2 separate regions of the Homo sapiens genome follow, and region 1 is linked to region 2. Evidence: promoter capture Hi-C in 16 types of primary human blood cells and fetal thymus (Javierre and others, 2016). All regions are on one chromosome and are shown on one strand. The core of a region is centred on a gene start or on the middle of the fragment in contact, and the rest is flanking DNA. Distances in the headings are between cores, read along the strand shown.

What was found. Contacts are between HindIII fragments. The CHiCAGO score rates a contact against its expected background, and 5 or more counts as called.
Region 1: a contact is called between a fragment that was not itself captured here and the fragment with the promoter of NUDT7 in region 2, in 1 of 17 cell types (non-activated CD4 T cells). The highest score is 5.6, in non-activated CD4 T cells.

Annotation. Positions count from the first base shown.
Region 1 is chr16:77,181,707-77,186,014 of GRCh38, forward strand. No RefSeq gene overlaps it. Among named protein-coding and RNA genes, the nearest start is that of MON1B, 7.3 kb to the right of the region's middle. The HindIII fragment of the contact is 3,900 bases long and covers 361-4,260 here.
Region 2 is chr16:77,719,696-77,723,763 of GRCh38, forward strand. NUDT7 (nudix hydrolase 7) reads left to right here and starts at 2,819. Exons shown (of 4, transcript NM_001105663.3): 1 at 2,819-2,922. The coding sequence starts at 2,888. RefSeq lists an enhancer at 2,657-2,951 and a silencer at 2,665-2,794. The HindIII fragment of the contact is 15,416 bases long and covers 1-4,068 here.

The DNA of each region.
Region 1 (4,308 bases), core at 1,061-3,560, 540 kb before region 2:
AAAACAGTGTTGAGTACAATTTATAGCTTTAAATGCTTAAACTAGAAAAAGTAGAAAGATTTCATATTAGCAACCCTAAGATTGTCACATTAAGATGCTGGAAACGAAGTATATATTACAATGAAATTTAAGAAAAAGATAAATATGAGTACAAATCAAAGGAGAGAAAACTAGAGAATTTCAGTTAAACCAAAAGGTTATATTTTGAAAAGGGCAACCCACTAGGTTTATTAATCAAGGAGAAATTTGAAAAGGTGCAGATGACCGTTATCTGGAATAATAAAAGAATATCACTACAGATTTTACATACATAAAAGTAGAATAAAAAATTAAGAAAATTTTTATGCTAATTAATTTGAAAGCTTAGATGAATTGGGCAAATTTACCTTGAAAAATAAAAATTACCAAAAGAGGGCCAGATGCAGTGGTTCATGCCTGTAATCCCACACCTTGGGAGGCCGAGGCAGGTGGATCAGCTGAGGCCAGGAGTTCGAGACCAGCCTGGCCAACATCATGAAACCCTGTCCCTACTAAAAAATATTTTTTAAAAATTAGCCGGGCATCGTGGCAACTGCCTGTAGTCCTAGCTAGGAGGCTGAGGCAGGAGAATCGCTTGAACCTGGGAGGTGGAGGCTGCAGTGAGCCAAGATCACACCACCACACTCCACCACAGGTGGCAGAGCAAGACTCCATCTAAACAAACAAACAAAATTTAAAAAAAAAAAATTACCAAAATACACTCAAGAATAAATACAAAATTTCAATAGCATGGAAATCATTAAAGAAACAGACTTTGCATATTGAATTGGTTTTACAATGTAAATAGTTTGTTTAACTGAATTCAAATGAATACTTACGAAAGAAATAATACACTCACAAACACTTTAAGAAAATAAAAGAGAAATAGGCCAGGCACGGTGGCTCACACCTGTAATCCCAGCAGTTTGGGAGGTCGAGGCGGGCAGATCACGAGGTCAAGAGATCGAGACCATCCTGGCCAACATGGTGAAACCCCATCTCTACTAAAATACAAAAATTAGCTGGGCATGGTGGCACTGGCCTGTAGTCCCAGCTACTTGGGAGGCTGAGGCAGGAGAATCGCTTGAACCAGAGGTCAGAGTTTGCAGTGAGCCGAGATCGTGCCACTGCACTCCAATCTGGCGAAAGAGCCAGACTCTGTCTCAGAAAAAAATTTTACAAAAATAAAAAACCTCCCTGGTGATTCTTTGCTGAAGTCCTCCCTAGCCCCTGCACTAGACAAACACTGGTCTGCTTTCTATCAAAATACATTTGATTTTTTTTCTAGCATTTCTTACAAATGGAATCAAAAAGTGTGTACTTTTTTGTATCTGGCTGTTTTGCTCAGCAAAATACTTTAGAGATTCATGCTGTTGTTATACGTATCAATAGTTCAGTTGTTTTTATTGCTGAGTAGTATTATGAATATACCACAATTCATTGTCCATTATCTTCTTGTTGGATATTTGGAGCTTTTCTCCAGTTTTTATTTACTATAAAGAAAGTTGCTGTTAGCATGTGTGCAGAAATAATTTTGTGGGCATATGTTTCATGGTAAATACCTGAGAATAAAATGGGTGAGTCATGCAGTAAGAGTGTGTATTTATACCTCATAAGAATCTACCAAAGCATTTTTCAAAGTTGCACCATCTTGCATTCCTGCCAGCAATGGGGAAGAGTTTGTTTCTGCAAATTTCCTCGAGCAATTTGTATTGTAAGTTTTTCTTAAATATTAGCAATTCTAGCTAGTATGTGGTCAATTCTTACTCTAGATACAATGTGCCTTTTTAGGACTGATTATTATGGTAAGCATTTTTTCATGGACTTATTGGCCTTTTGTGTCTTATTTGATCAAGTTTCTGTTTAAATCTTTTTTATTGAATTGTTTGCTTTCATATTATTGAGTTTAATATGTCCTTTTAAAATTTTTGTATTATGGGTACAAGTTATTTGATGCGCACAGGTATTTTTTCAGTCTATTGCTTGCATTTTCATTTGCTAACACTGTCTTGAGCAGATTTTCATATTTTTCAAGTTCAGTTTCTCATTGTTTTGGTTGATGATTCATGATTTTGTGACAAAACGAATAAATCATTATATATACACCAAGATTGTAGAATTTTTCTTCTATGTTTTCCACAAGAAATACCATTTTAGCTTTTATGTTAAGCTGTATAATATACTGTAAATTAAATTTTTGTATGGTGTTATATAAGGGTTGCAGTTCATTTTCTCCATGTGAATGTCCACTGTTCCAATTCTATTTGTTGGTAAGATTAGCATCTCTTCAATTAATTAGATTGGTATCTTTGTTGAACCATACAGGTGTGGAGAAATCAGGACTGTGTGATTTGATAAATTGATCTATATATTTATATTTACATCAATACGTGATCTTTGTTACTTTAGCTTTACAGTAAATATTAAAATAATGTAGTTTAAGTCTATCTTTGTTCCTCAGAAACGTCTTGGCTATTCTAAAATACTGGCATTTTCATATCAAAATAATTTTGTAATTTGTCTTTACAAACCATTCTAGGTTTTATATTAGGATTATGTAAAATTCAGTAGATAATTTTAGGGAGAATTTATATTTTGATAATGAGAAGTTTCCAATTGTTGGACATAGTGAATATCTCAATTTACTAAATCTTCTAAGTTCCTCCAGAAAAAAAAAATGATTTTACAGTGGATAATTAAGGCATATGTATTATTATAATTATATAAGCATATATATCATTATAATTATTCCTAAGTATTTTAAGTTTTTATGCTATTGCATATGGTATTTATCTTTTAAGATTCCATATTCCTTTCCTTCATTAATTTTCTGTGTGTGTGTGTGTATGTATCTACCTGTATTATTGCTGTGTGTATATCCATATGTAATTGATTTTGGTATTCTTTAACCTTGTTACAGTCACATGTATATAACTTAAAATGTCTATATACAATGCCATATTGTTTCAGAATAAAAGAGATATTTTCATTACTAATATTTAGGGGTTTTTATTTATTTCTCTTTTTTTTCTATTTATACTAGCTTTAAATATGCAATGTAATCTTGAGCAAAAGTGACAATAACAGACATCCTTGACTTTCCCCTAATCTTAGGGAGAAAGTAGTCGGTCTTTCCCCATAAAGGCTAAAGTTAACTGCAGGTTTTTCTTCCATGTTCTCATCATCTTAAGTACATTTTCCTTTATTCCTAGTTGATAAGAATGTCTTTAATGAATAGTAATCAAATTTTGTGATATTCTTCTTCACTTTTGATATGTCAATATATTGAATTCAATAGTCTACAGATTTTTGAATCCATATTCTTGAAGAAATTTGACCTGCTTTTTCATTTTTATAATGTTTGCTATAGTTTTATTATTATGGTAATTATCAAATTATAAAGTTGAAAAGTTTTTCCCTTTTTTTGCTTTTCTGAACAAAATTATACAACATTTGTAATACTTGTTACTTAAATATTTGAATCCACCATTGATGTCATCTAGGCCTGGAATTTTTATGGGAAAACTTTTAATTATAAATCTAATTTACTTAGTGATATAGAGCCCTCAGGTTTGTTCCATTCCTTGTGAATAAATATTTGTATTGGCGTCTTTCAGTAATTTTTCCTCTATATTCTCAAAGTTTTTGCCATTAAAGTGCTCATAGTAGTTTCTTACTACCCATGTATGTCTATGCCATCTCTAATCATGTTACCTTCTTTCAGCCCTACTATTGGTAATTTGTCTCCTGTTTTATCATTTAAGCAAAAGTTTCAGTAATTTTATGGATCTTTTCGAAAAATATATATATTGTTGCATTGATTTTCTCTTTTGGTTGTATGTTTTCTGTCTCACCAAATTTCACTCTTATCTTTATTATTCCCTTACTTCTTAGTTACTTCAGGTTTAATTTCCTTCTTATTTTCCAGCTTCTTAAAGTTCACATGTAGACTATTGATTATAGGCATTTCTTCCTATGTACATAAGCATGTAGTTATACACTTTCTTATAAGCACTGCTTTGTATCTTCCAAATTATTTGTTGTGTCTTTATTTTCATTCAGTTCAAAATATTTTCTAATATTCCATCGAGATTTATTATTTGATCCACGTGTCAATATGAAGTGTGTTGTCTTAATTTTCAATAGAGATTTCACAGATATTTTTGTTAATAATTTCTATTTTAATTCTATTGTAATCGAAGAACACCTTCTTTATAATTTTACTTATTAAAAACGTATTAAAGCTTGTTTTATCTTCCAGCATATGCTGTACCTTGTGAGTGTCCCATG
Region 2 (4,068 bases), core at 1,569-4,068:
TGTGTAAGCACTGTGTGGAAACACTGGATATTATGAATATCACAGCGATATTTCGTTAATGTCACAGTGCGTAAGCACTGTGTGTAAATACTGGATATTATGAATATCACAGTGATATTTCATTAACGTAACAGCGTGTAAGCACTGTGTAAACACTGGATATTATGAGTGTCACAGTGATATTTCATTAATTTCACACGGGATATTATAAAAATCACAACGATATTTAACATCATAGTGTGTAAACACTTTGTGTAAACATCGGGTATTATAAATATCACAGCGATGTTTCATCGGTATCACAGTTTGTAAACCTTGGATATTATAAACATCACAGCGATATTTCATTTATATCACGATGTGTAAACACTGGATACTATAAATATCACAGCGATGTTTGCTTAATATCACGGTGTGTAAACACTGTATATTACAAATATCACAGCCATATTTTATTAATATCACGGTGTGTACACACTGGATATTATAAATATCATATTGATATTTCATTGAGGTCATGGTGTGTAAACACTGGATGTTGTAAATATCTGTGATATTTCATTGATGTTATGGTGCATCAACACTTGATATTACAAATATCACAGAGACATTTCATTGATATCACAGTGTGGAAACACTGGGTATTATAAATATCACAGCGATATTATATTAATATCACGGTGTGTAAACATTGTATATTACAAATATCAGCCATATTTTATTAATATCACAGTGTGTAAACACTGGATATTATAAATATCACATCGATATTTCATTGATGTCACGGTGTGTAAACACTGGATGTTGTAAATATCACAGCGATATTTCATTAATATTTCATTTCATTAATAATTTCACAAACTGCCCCACTGACCTAGGGCCAGCCACAATATTACTTTCATGGGCCCTAGCTACTTTGTTTTTGTGCACCCCTTCTTCCATAAAATAATTTTAAAGTGAATATTTTATGACTGAATTCATAAAATGACTATCATCCAAGCTGGATTCATTATTATATATTGCTTTTATTACATACCTTTTCTTCTTCTAATTTAAAAAGAAATTACAATTAAAACATTTTCACAGGTCCCTAAAATTACTGTGTGTGTCCTGTGCCTGTAAGGGAGAAGTCAGCCCTACACTGACCCCTGGATTCTCAGCTCGCACCAGGCTCCCTCACACACACTGTTCTCCAGCCCCTTTCTGCTGTCTTTGCACAAACTTTGCCCTCTTCCTTGAACACTCTCCCTTGCCTTTTTCCTCATTTATGTCCTCTATCCCGCACAGAGCATCAGAATCCCCTTACAGCACAGATCACTGGGCCTGACACCTGGCTTCTGATTCAGCAGTTGTGACATGGGCCCCAAAGTCCACCTTTTCTTTTCTTTTCTTTTCTTTTCGTCTTTTTTCTTTTCTTTTCTTTTCTCTTTTCTTTCTTTCCTTTCTTTCTTTCTTGGTTTTTGTTGTTGTTGTTGTTGTTGTTTTGTTTTGTTTTGTTTTTGAGACAGAGTTTCGCTTTTTTTTGCCCAGGCTGGAGTGCAATGGCGCGATCTCGGCCCACTGCAAACTCCGCCTCCCAGGTTCAAGCGATTCTCCTGCCTCAGCCTCCTAGTAGCTGAGATTACAGGCGCCTGCCACTGGCTAATTTTTGTTTTTTTAGTAGAGATGGGGTTTCACCATGTTGGCCAAGCTGGTCTCAAACTCCTGACCTTAGGTGATCCACCCGACTTGGCCTCCCAAAGTGCTGGGATTACAGGTGTGAGCCACAGCGCCTGGCCCAGAGTCCACATTTTTAACAGGACCAAAGTGATCCTGATTCTGCTGGTCTGAGGACCACACTTTGAGAACTACTGCTTTCAAGATGAGCTGCACTTCTATTTCCTCTACCAAGCCTCTTCTGTCTCCTAATTGGGTCACATTTCTCCTTCACACGCTCTAGAAGGACCAAAGGCCACTGCTTTATCAGTGTGATTTTTTTTTTTTTTTTTTTTTGCATTAAAAACTTCTTATCTTCTTCTTCTTATTTTTGAGACGGTCTACCTCTGTCAGGCTGGAGTGCAGTGGTGCTATCACGGCTCACTGCAGCTTCGACCTCCTGGGCTCAAGCGATCCTCCCACCTCAGCCTCTTGAGTAGCTGGGACCACAGGTGTGTGCCACCACGCCTGGCTAATTTTTTATTTTTATTTTGTAGAGATGGGGTTTCGCCATGTTGCCCAGGCTGGGCTCGAACTCCTGGATTCAAGTGATCCTCCCCTCTTGGCCTCCCAAAGTGTTGGAATTACAAGCATATGCCACTGCATCCAGCCCTGTGTGATTAATTTATGTTTCTACCATTTGACTGTGAGCTCCACGTGTCTTTTCGCTAGCTGTGGGATCTGCACCCAGTGCATACAGGTGGTCGGTGAACAGGTGCTGACAGCAGTTCCAAAAAGTTGAATGAATCACCTTAACCTTCCAGCAACAGCGAATGCGAGTGTAAAATATTATCACCTCACCAACACTGTATTTTTTTTTTTTTTAACTCTTCCAGCTCTAAATTCCACAACTCCTCCTATACCTCTTGCTTCCATAGAAGCCCAAGGAGCCCGGCAGAAACTGCTTTGAGCAACCAGGAACACCCGGCCCTAAGTCCCGCCCCGCGCCTCTCCCCACCTCAAGTCCCGCCTCTGGCTATAAGCCCCGCCCCGCCCCGATCCCGGCCTCCGATCCCAGATCTCGCACCGCCCCGCCCCCTGTCTCCGCCCCAGACACCACCCCGCCTCGTGCTCTAAGCCCCGCCCCTCTCTCTGGCTTTAGGCCGCTCCCAAGCCCAGAGCTGCTCTGCGCAAGCGCGACCGACCGAGCAGCTCCGAGGAGTCCGCCCGGAAACAAACATTCCCCAGGGCAATGTCACGACTTGGTCTTCCCGAGGAGCCAGTCAGGTAAAGGCTTTCCGGGCCCTGGCACCCCGAGCTTGGTCAGGCCCGGCCTTGATCGTAGCGGAGGCCACCGGGGCCTTTTGGCCGGGACTGATTTTGCAGCTCCCGCCAGTCCACCTGCGAGCGCCGGATGGGGGAGCACTCGCCTCCAGCAACCCGCAGGGTCCCCGAACCTTTGCACTGCTCTGGCCAGGAACAGAGCCGGCTTAAGCCAGTATGGTTTACATACACGCTGCTCCCCTTCCCAGCCGGCTTGGCTGTTCTGCAATCCGCGTCTCCAGAGTTGGACCCCAGGACCCCCGACAGTGGCACAGACCCGCAGCAGGCAGCCCCGGATTCAAGTCCCCCGGTGGCTACTTTCAGTTGTGACCTTGGGTCTGTCAGTTTCGTAAACTCTCTGAGCCTGGAGGTGACCCTGTGATCACTTGCCGGGCTGTTGTGAGGATAAAATGAGAAACGTCAAAATTGAGACCATGCTCAGAACGGGGTGGCTGCTACTGCTGTTGATACCTTGGTGATTATTCCAGCGGCCAGCCCCTAAAGTGGACAGATAACGTTTTTGCAGCCTTTTACTTTGGCTGGTTTGTCTGGTCAGTTCTGTGGTTTCCGGGTGGTTAAAAGCCACCAGCCCACAGTTTCCTTTTCTGGAGGCTGGCCTGCGTGCATCCAGATGCACTGTGCAATCCCTGTGCCAGCATTCACTGATTTTTTTCAGGCCATTTGGTCTTTGAAATACACTGCCGTTACCCAACCACATCTGGTGAGCACCCTGCCACCTAGAAAGAGGCAAAAAATAGCAAATACCTCCTGCAAACAACTGCTTATCTAATGATGGGGAGATTTATGACAGTGGTTACCATTCCCTGAGCACCAGCTGTGTGCCAGCCACAGTATATGAACTGCATCATTTAATCTTCTTAAATATCCTCAAGCCTGACACAAATGAAGATGAAACTCAGAGAAGTCATTTGTATACACTTTTTTTTTTTTTTTTTTGAGACAGAGTCTCACTCTGCCGCCCTGGCTACAGTGCAGTAGGCAATCTCGGCTCACTGCAGCCTCTGCCTCCTGGGTTCAAGCGATTCTCCTGCCTCAACCTTCTGAGTAGCTGGGATTACAGGCATGTGCCACGATGCCCGGCTAATTTTT